Regions from separate parts of the Homo sapiens genome. Here regions 2 and 3 are each linked to region 1. The links are contacts of gene promoters, found by promoter capture Hi-C in blood cells and fetal thymus (Javierre and others, 2016). All regions are on one chromosome and are shown on one strand. Each heading gives the region's core, a stretch centred on a gene start or on the middle of the fragment in contact. The rest is flanking DNA. Distances are from core to core; before and after follow the strand shown.

What was found. The method cuts DNA at HindIII sites, captures the fragments that hold promoters and counts their contacts. A CHiCAGO score of 5 or more calls a contact.
Region 2: a contact is called between a fragment that was not itself captured here and the fragment with the promoter of CCT4 in region 1, in 17 of 17 cell types (naive CD8 T cells, activated CD4 T cells, total CD8 T cells and 14 more). The highest score is 18.7, in naive CD8 T cells.
Region 3: a fragment that was not itself captured here is called in contact with the fragment with the promoter of CCT4 in region 1 in 1 of 17 cell types (monocytes); the score reaches 7.0 in monocytes.

What each region holds. Positions count from the first base shown.
Region 1 is chr2:61,886,548-61,889,915 of GRCh38, reverse strand. It overlaps CCT4 (chaperonin containing TCP1 subunit 4), which reads left to right and starts at 1,260. Exons shown (of 14, transcript NM_006430.4): 1 at 1,260-1,535. The coding sequence starts at 1,409. It also overlaps a transcript of COMMD1 not described here. RefSeq lists enhancers at 1-550, 1,490-1,569, 1,111-1,670, 1,671-2,232. The HindIII fragment of the contact is 8,675 bases long and covers 1-2,813 here.
Region 2 is chr2:62,412,002-62,415,249 of GRCh38, reverse strand. It overlaps LOC105374764 (a long non-coding RNA gene), which reads right to left and starts at 57. Exons shown (of 6, transcript XR_002959390.2): 1 at 1-57. RefSeq lists an enhancer at 3,056-3,245. The HindIII fragment of the contact is 171 bases long and covers 1,184-1,354 here.
Region 3 is chr2:62,697,092-62,700,727 of GRCh38, reverse strand. It overlaps a transcript of EHBP1 not described here. Among named protein-coding and RNA genes, the nearest start is that of EHBP1, 6.8 kb to the left of the region's middle. The HindIII fragment of the contact is 861 bases long and covers 966-1,826 here.

The DNA of each region.
Region 1 (3,368 bases), core at 11-2,510:
ATTGTGAGGACTAAACGAGATATAAAACGTGTAAAGGTTTAGCACTGTGCTTAGCAGATAACGGAAATAAATGATCTTTATTATAATGTTTACGTTCCCTAAGAGTCAGTGGCTACGTCATGCAGGAGACACTAGTGTAGAACAAGCGGGCGGTGGTAACTAGACAGACCTGATTTGGCAGTCTGTCAAACCTCCACCACCCAGTATCAACCAATACGAGATAACTAACCTCGCCTCATTCCAAATCTCCCTTTTCTGACTCCCTTTCAAAATGAACAAAACTGCATAAAATGCAGGTCTATGTGGCCGGGCAAAAACAGACTCAGTCATATCCCTTAGAGAGTTATTCCGGCGCCCACCCCACCTCGCGGATAGATCCAGCCGGAGTTAAAGGAGGGCACCTCCGGGTGGGCGCGGTGGCTCACGCCTGTAATCCCAGTACTTTGAAACGCTGAGGAGGGTGGACCGCTTTGAGCCGGGGAGGTCAGACCAGCCTGGGCAACACAGCGAAACCCAGTCTCGCTATGTTTCGAATACAAAAATTCGCTAGGCATGGTGGCGGGCACCTGTCGTCCTGGCTAGTTGGGAGGCTGTGGCGGGAGGATCGCTTGGGCCCCGGAGGTCGAGGCTGCAGTGAGCCAAGATCGCCCCACTGCACTCCCGCCTGGACGACAGAGCGAGACTCTGTCAAAAAAAAAAAAAAAAAAAAAAAAGGCCGGGCTTCGTGGCTGACGCCTGTAATCCCAACACTTTGGGAGCCCGAGGCGGGTGGATCACCTGAGGTCGGGAGTTCGAGACCGGCCTGGCCAACATGGTGAAACCCTGTCTCTACTAAAAATACAAAAATTAGCTGGGCATGGTGGCGGACGCCTGTAATCCCAGCTACTCGGGAGGCTGAGGAGGATCGCTTGAACCTGGGAGGCGGAGGCTGCAGTGAGCCGAGATTTTGCGCCACTGCACTCCAGCCTGGGCAACAGAGTGAGACTGTATCCAAAAAAAGAAAAAAAAAAAAAAAAAAAGGAGGGGACCTCATAGCCGTGCAAGGTGGAGTGAGGAAATGCGGATGTCCTCACCACTCGCCTTTAAAATCGCGCGTTGTCATTGCTGCCTCGCGTAAAGGTTCCCCCGGCGCTCTTCACCCACAGCGCCCCGGGCGTACAATCTCGCCAGCCCGGAGCCCACCGCACGCATCCTCCTCGCCCGGCGCGCAGCGGACAGCCTCCTACGTCACGCCAGCGCCGCGCGGCAAGGAAGGCCCCCTTCTCCGCCTCCGCCTCCTCCCGACGCCGGCGCCGCTTTCTGGAAGGTTCGTGAAGGCAGTGAGGGCTTACCGTTATTACACTGCGGCCGGCCAGAATCCGGGTCCATCCGTCCTTCCCGAGCCAACCCAGACACAGCGGAGTTTGCCATGCCCGAGAATGTGGCACCCCGGAGCGGGGCGACTGCCGGGGCTGCCGGCGGCCGCGGGAAAGGCGCCTATCAGGACCGCGACAAGCCAGCCCAGATCCGCTTCAGCAACATTTCCGCCGCCAAAGGTATCACTCTCATGGCCTGACCCGCGGCGCCGCGGGGTTGTGCTCTGCGCTCTCATCGTGGGCTTGAGCGGGTTTGGCTCATTTCCCATTTCTTCGGGTGATCCTCTCTTGTCCTCCCTATAGAAGCAGCCCAGTGGAGGGATCCTTATTTCTGTTTTTCTGCCGATGATCGCCAACCCGGAGTATGGAGGCCTTTGGACTTGCCCCATTTTGCATCTTAATCTCCCTTAGTTTTTCATCCTGCACTGTGCATCATTCATATTGGAGCCGAAAGCAGTTCAAAATGCCGAGGATTGCATGCAGTCTTCACTAGGGATCTGACGCTTGAGGGCTGTCGCTTATTGCTTATTGGAACTGGTAGAATGCACAGTATCTTTCAGCTTTGTTATTCTTATTTAAAGAACTATTAAATAAACTTCACTTGGCACAACTGTTGAGACGAATTGGGTGAACTCTCCGAGTCTAAATTGGGGCGGGGCCCATTGTACTGGGATGGATGTGGGAACCGACTTACGTGTCGTGTTTGAAATAGTTGCGGAAAAGTTACGTTGATGTCGTCTCCGCATGTGCAGTGAAACATAGGCAAATCAAGAAACAATTATTTGTTTTTTTTGTGGAAGTGTGTGGCACACGTTGGAAATCAGGAAGACCAGAGTTTCATTCTCTGCTTCCGTTACTTCATGTCTTAGTGACCTGTAACCTCTGTGCCAAAGATTCACTTATAAAATTGGAGGAAAATGTTTGCTTTTTAGAGTTAAGATTAAGAGAAATCGAGTTGAAATAGAAAAATCTGGAAGGAAAAGTCAGGACAGAGGTTTAGAGATCTTGCCCGAGTGTATATTGAGTATAGTAGTTCTTTTGGGTTGGAGAATAGTAGTATGTTTACAGAAGAGGTGAGATTAGAAAGCTAGGTTGGGGCAGATGTTAAAGGCCTGGTGTCCTGGAAAGTATTTGGCTTAATCTCCCCCAGCTATGGGATCATTTCTTTTTAGCCATCGTGTAGGCTTGCTGTGAGGATTCAGTGAGAAAGCATATAAAGACCCACGTATATAAAGTACACCTTACATGTGTTTGCAGTCATCAGCCCAAGTAACTGGGAATGTGATGGCGCTAAGATAGGTAACGCTGGATGTAAGAAAAAGTAATAGTTTCTAACTTGTCCTAATGAGTTGGAAAGGTCAGAATGGCCAGATTTAGGAGTCATTTGTAAGTTTAGGAGATAATACACCTGGAAACGAAGGTTTGTAGGATAATTGTCTAGGGACCATAGTTGAAGCTTACATTTATTAGATTAGGAACAGAATGTTGAAAGATAAATTTTGGGTCGGGCAGGGTGGCTCACGTCTGTAATCCCAGCAATTTGGGAGGCTGAGGCTGGCGGATCACATGAGGTCAGGAGTTCAAGACCAGCCTGACCAACATGGAGAAACCCCGTCTCTACTAAAAATACAAAATTAGGTGGGTGTGTTGGCGTAGGCCTGTAGTCCCAGCTACTCGGGAGGCTGAGGCAGGGGAATAGCTTGAACCTGGGAGGCGGAGGTTGCCGTGAACTGACGTCGCGCCATTGCACTCCAGCCAGGGTGACGAGCGAAACTCCGTCTCAAAAAAAAAAAAAGATAAATTTGGGGGCCAAGAGAGTTTATAATATGGTTGATATTCAACAAACAAAATAAGTGGGAAATTTAGCAACCTTTGAAACAAAAGCAGACAAAGAACTGAAACAACAGAGGAGGGTGTGCATGTGGGAAGGAAAGGCCACCTAAGTTATCTGTGAAGATGACCCGTTATGTCTTAAACTCCTGGCCTCAAGTGACGGCCTGCCTTGGCTTCGCA
Region 2 (3,248 bases), core at 20-2,519, 530 kb before region 1:
GTCCAGTACGCAAACTTGGTCTTCAGAGGACTGACTTCCTCTTGGATAGAAGAACCCTCTGAAACCATGACTGTCAAGAACACACCCAAATAAAGCAGCTGCCGAAACCACAAAAACAGAAAGACTAGATTCATTGTGAAGATGTTTTCTAACATTCAAATGGGCTTTTGTTAGTTTTGTTTTTGATTTTGGTGGAGGTCATTTGAGTCTTGTTATCAAGGTTACAAAGTGCTCTCTGGGAAAAGATCCGGGCCCATTTACCAGGCTGCCTTGCCTGGCTTTGCTTCTCGGGTATGAAATGAACATTGAGAATGCAGACACTGAAGAAAAGACCTCAGGTATCTTTGACTTTTTTTTTTTTTTTTTTTTTGAGACAGGGTCTCAATCTGTCACCCAAGCTGTAGTGCAATGGCACGATCTAGGCTCACTGCAACCTCTGCCTCCCAGGTTCAAGCAATTCTCCCACATCAGCCTCCTGAGTAGCTGGGATTACAGGGGCGTGCCACCACACCCAGCTAATTTTTGTATTTCTAGTAGAGATGGGGTTTCACCATGTTGGCCAGGCTGGCCTTGAACTCCTGACCTCAAGTGATCCATCCACCCTGACTTCCCAAAGTGCTGGGATTACAGGCGTGAGCCACCATGCCCAGCCTATTTTTGACTTTCTGAGTCAAGTAACCAGATGAAACCAGTCCCCTTGTCCACCCAGAGTCCACTCAGGCTATACTTGATTCATACTTTTTTTTTAATTTTTATATTTTTTTTAGAGACAGGGTCTCATTCTGTCACCCAGGCTGGAGTACAGTGGCACAATCACGGCTCACTGCAACCTCGAACTACTGGGCTCAAGCAATCCTCCTGCCTCAGCCTCCCAATTAGCTAGGACTACAGGCACGTGCCACCATGCCTGGGTAATTTTTTAATTTTTTGTAGCAATGGAGTCTCACTATGTTGACCAGGCTGATCTCAAACCCCTGGTCTCAAGCAACCGGCTCCCTTTAGCCTCCCTAAGCACTAGGATTACCGGTGTGAGCCACCACACCTGGCCTGATTCATATGCTAGACTCATATGCTAGAAAAGCCAACCCCAAATGGGCCCTGATAGAGCAATCTTGTTGGGGACAGTTTTACTTGTAAGTAACTGGCTCCCTGACCTACAGAATATAAGCCTTCAGAAAAAGCTTCAGAAAAAGCTCAGCACCCTGCCTCTCTCCTCCAAATAATGTTCCAGGTGATATTCTGCAAGCACACCTGGAAACTTTGCTCTGTTTGTTAACCTAGAAAATTAAATGAGCAAGGGACAGAGCAGGCTGGCCTGGAACAGGGACTGGGTACAAACCAGATCTCCAAAGCTTGGGCTTATTCTCTGAAAGAAATGCTCTTTTTAATTTCAACTCTGATGTCTTGGTGGAGACATTCAACTGGAGATCTGGAGTCTTTGATATAAGCAAAGGCAAGCTTGTGGGATCACCACTGGCTACAGAAAGAAGCCCAGCTCTTTGGCAAAGAAAATCCTGGGCTCAGAGAGTGAAGAGTGTGTCAGATTTCTCACGTCAAAAGTCAGCTTTTGTATTCAGAATGGAGCCAGAAGGTCCTGAATCCAGAATGGCCTAGAGCCTCCCCACATGCTGTCCTAGCGGGGGCTTTAGCAGGTGGATTTTGATAAAGATAGCTTTGGATGCTAAGCATAGAAAAAAAGAGAAATGTTGGCTCTAGGCTGGGTATGGTGGCTCACACCTGCAATCCCAGCACTTTGGGAGGCCAAGGCGGGTGAATCACTTGAGTCCAGGAGTTCAAGACCAGGCTGGGCAACATGGCAAAATCATCTCTACAAAAAATACAAAAATTAGTCGGGCATGGGGTCACCCACCTGTAGTCCCAGCTACTAGGGAGGCTGAGGTGGGAGGATCAATTGAGTCCATGAGATCAAGGCTGCAGTGAGCCGTGTTTGCGCCACTGCATTCCAGCCTGGGTAACAGAGAAAGACCTTGTCTCAAAAAAGGAAAAAGAAAAAAGTTGGCTTTAGCACCTCGAACCCTAGATGACTTCCTGAGTGTCATATTCTTTGGCTGCTACTCTGGAGTCACATCTCAGGGAAGATCCAGACAGACGGCTTTGGTCTTTGTGTTTGTAGGTCCTTTTTCCCTCAGATACTCACCTGCCCTACTCCCTCACCTCATCTATGCCTTTGCACAGATATTAGCAGATATCTGTGCTGATAAAAGTTGCGACTGCACCAGGCACAGTGGCTCACACCTGTAATCCCAGCACTTTGGAAGGCTGAGGCAGGAGGACTGCTTAAGGCTAGGGGTTCAAGACCAGCCTGGGCAACACACCAAGACCTTATCTCTGAAAAAAAAAAAAAAAGTTGTAGCTCATCAATTACCCTATCTGAAATAGCCCTGAATCCCCTGCCTTATTTTCCTTTATTGCACTTGTTACTACATCCCATTATATTTTACATGTATGTGTTTAATATTTGCCTCCCTAGTTAAAATGTAAAGTGCATGAAAGGAGACATTTTTATTTATAGTCAGGTCCGCAGATCTTAGGACAGTGCCTGGCACATAATAAAAGCACAATAAATATTTGTTGAATGAGTCTTAGAGTTGAGTCAAACATCAGATAGCAGGTATTTCTACTGGGCAAATGTGGACTCACCCCAGAGGTGTGTAGAAGAGGGTGCAGAGTCTGGAGTAGTTTGGGGTGTAGGTGTCGGGGGAGAGGCAATTGTCTCGGGTGGAAACAAAATCCATGGCTTGTGCCCCTGCAGTTGCAAACACCATGAGTAGACGACAGAGAGAGAGAGAGAGAGAGAGAGAGAGGGAGGGAGGGAGGGGGAGAGAAAGAGAGAGAGAGAGAGAGAGAGAGGGAGGGAGGGAGGGGGGGAGAGAGATTGAGAGAGAGAGAGAGAGAGAGAGAGAGAGAGAGAGAGAGAGAGAGAGAGAGAGAAAACTAATTGTAATTCCTACTCATAGCCACAAGATGGCACTATTGCTCAGAGTCTTTACTCTGAAAAGCCGAATCTAGCAGAATCTAGCAGTCTAGTTTGGGATTCCTTGCTTCTCTCCGTCTCCTCCCGTTTCTCTCTCCGCTTTCCTCTCTTTTGTCTTCCTCTCCCTTCGTTTTTAAACACTGCTTTTATGGTGGACTTGAGCAATAGTATAGGAGAAGCCATTGGTGCTCAGAGAGAGATCCCCGAGATGGATATTTGGCCACACTAGGCACAATGGTTTGCTCACTGAGCA
Region 3 (3,636 bases), core at 147-2,646, 810 kb before region 1:
TATTATTTAATTTTAATTTATTTATTGGCTACATGTGGCTGGTAGCTACCATAATGGACAGTGCAAACTTACATAGTACTGTGGAGGTTCTGGATGCCCAACACAATTTCCAGACACCCAGAGGGGTACAGAGGCACTGCACAGCCACCAGACCAAAAGAGTCCTTGCTGATGATCCAAAATCAACCCAGCAACAATCCATGGAGCTGGCTGCTAATGAAGATGAATATTAGAACTCTAAGAGGAGCCAGCATAGTAGATGAGAAGCAAGGATTAAATGCCCCATCCCCTTCCCCCAACATAGTGATGCTATGTAAGCCCCCTCAATTGAGATGCAGTTCCTGCCAAATTGACTATGATTAAGTGTTTGCCACCCCTTGTGAAATCAAAGCTTGAAATAGAAATTAGGTTGAGTAATGGGAAAATAAAACTGTGTTTCTTGCCAACCTGAATTTCTTTAGATTGAGATTTATGCCTGTTATATAACCTTAAATAATAACTCTTAATAAAATAATTTAAAACCTATGTTTATTCTCTTAAAAGGTGGCCTTTTTTTTTTACTCTATCATTATAGGACCCAAGTTCTTTGGTTGACATAAAAGCTTAGAAAAGCTGCATTAGAAAACCATCTTTCAATTAGGAACAGTATTCTTTGGTGAAATTGTTTCTGTTGCAGTTACCCATGAACGAATATTTGAAGTTAGTCATAATGAAGCTTTGCACATTGAACCTAAGATTGCACTAATTCTAGGACCTCAGTTGTATACTAAAAATACAATTTTGTCCAGCTCCACAGCATCTAGAAAAGACCAACATGGGCTTGGTTGCTAGAGGCAGAGGAGCATTCTTGACTTCCTTGAAACTCAGGTAGAGACTGAAGCAAATCTACAGATTCTATCCACTGGTGATTCGGCAGGACTAACTTCTGTTGTTAATCTGGAGCAACACAGTGAATGACTAGAAGCTTAGAAATCTTTATATTGCAGGCAACAATGATATTCAAAGTGTGGACATTCAGTGTGTTAACAACATGGCATAGGCATTGATCAGTTAGAATGGATGACAACTGTAAACGTTGGCCTAGTTGTCCCTTTGTGGACTAACTAAATACCAGCCCTAACTCTAGAGTGCCCTTGCTGGTCTATAGCATCCTCTCAATCTAAGCCTTCTAACTACTTAAGATACTTTCATAATGGTGAAGTCCCAGTCCACAAATGTGTATGTCAAGGTAAAAGCAGCTAGCTGAGATAATTTACATATTGCAAATAAGTGGGCCATTACTGGGATTATAGCAGCAAAGATTTGAGTTGGAATTAAGACCTCAGCTGAGAAAGTCATTGCTAAATTCAATAAATTCATCTCCTATAAAATCAGCAGGGATTCTTGACCAAGACTTACTGGTCATTTCCCATGAAATGTTAAGAGCCTTTGGCAAATTATAAGGGGTAGACTGACCTTTGCTTCACTTCTTCTGTGTTTTCAAAAACTGGAAAAAAAATCCAGGTAACCAGATACAGCATCCAGCCAGTGTTTTCCTCTGAATAATTCATAGATGATTATATTTGTATGAGCAAGATAATATAATTAATATCATTCTGAAATAATAAGGCTAGACAGGAAAGGCAAAGAAAAGCTGGTAGAAATTCATAATCTTGGAGGGCATTGACTACAACCCTTGTGGTGTAAAACCAAAGCACTTCCATCCCATACAGTACAAAGAACACACACACAAAAAGCAAAATTTCAAAGCAAGCTGAAAGCAGGCAAAACTCCACTTACCAGGGCACTGGGCATGAGCCAAGGGAAAGTAGCCCTGTTGCTGAAGCTTGTCCCAGATGAGTAGAGCTGGAAAATAAACCCAGCTTTCAAAGGGCAGGATTAACTCATGCACAGTTTGGGCAATCTTCTGGGCAGGGCAAGATAGAGAAAAATTCCAGGGCAAGGGCAATAACATGAGAGCCAGAGAGAGCTGCAATATTGTTCCAGGCCTCTCTTTTCACAGCAAGTCACCCAATTAGTGACTGGGCTTACAGTGATCAGAACGTAGCCTGGGAAGCAAAGATGACTTTGTGAGAGCCGCTGGATATTTCTTCATATTCTGTCACAACTTTTGGATGCTATTTTAAAATATTCCCAATAATGCATCATTGATCTCTTTCTCCAAGAAAAGAAATTCAAGTGTTGAGCAAGTCAGGTTTTTGTGCCATAGTTCAATCTTCCGAAGAAATCCTGCTATCTTTAAAATTTTAAAAATCACAATATTTTATCCCTGAAATAAGTTGAGTCTGTTTTAGATATTGAACATAGTACTGAGTTACCTATATTGAGAGAGCCCCTTGAAACAACTGTCTTGCATTATCAGTGTCCCATTTCTCATTTCAAAAATGTGTGAGCACCTGCTAACCAGCATACTTCAGTGTGGAAAAGGAGAGTGTTATACTTGTGCATGTTTCTTCACATAACACATGCTAAAAAGAGCATATTTAAAGGTCACAACTTGATTATATTTGAAATATTCACTCTTTTCTTGAACAATTAAAGCAAGAATAGGAGGCATATTGTTAACTGTTCAACTTCTCTTATTCTTGTAATAACACTCTTTCTAGCTATTCACAAAACTACCTTGTGCCAATCAGTTTGTTTGCCATGTGTCTTGTCCAGCCTACAGCTGAACAAGATAACAATTACCAAAATCCTGCAGTGACTTGTCAGTGATAAAAAGACCAACTTGTTGAGTACTTCTCTCTAACACATATAGAGCTGTAACATGAAATTGCTGCACAGCGTGTATAATGGGACCTGGTCTTCAACATTGTATGCTATGGATGTATGCCCAAGAATGTTACTGGATCAGTTTTGCCAATAGTTCATTCTGTTTTCTCTTATTAATTTCCCTTAATAATATCTTATTAACTTTCAGTTGACTTTGCAAGTTCTAAGGCAACAGGTTCAAGAGTACAACTTTGAATGATAGCTTTTTCATTTTGATTTTCTTTGATGATATTTTTAGTGAAAAATCTGTTAATTTATTAAGAAATATTCAGTGAATAATTATTAAGGTCAAAGCATTCTGGTAGGTATTGGGAATGCAGCACATAAAAAAGACAAAATCCCTGTCCTCCTGGAGCTCATATTTCTCTTCTATTAGAAGTCATTGTTTAGTATTTCCCTTAGAAAATTTCAGTTGATGAGAGGTGACCGTGCTTTGTTTAACAATGACAAAAAACCTGAGAAAAGTGTTATAAAAGACAATGTGCTGGGGACTAACATAAAAGGATCACCCACTCAATAAAATCCAATTATCAGATGTGTATTATTGTACTTCCAGCTCTTTCCTTTTGTTGTGGCTGCTTGTGCAAAGTCACATAGAGACTTGTCAGAACACATACAAATTTATAATCTATATTTGCACTGGAGTCCTGTTTACAATTTATGTTTTTAAAATTTGAATTGTAGTATTTACATTATTATTTTTATGATTTACTGAATAGAGACATTGATTTTTTTAAGTTATGTCTATAAGGCAACATGATTGTAACTACAAATATGCAAAACTAACACATGCCAAAATTGAAATTACATTGTCTGAGAGAAATGATCTGCAACCTGTTAAACATCAGCCAAAACAATCTGATTA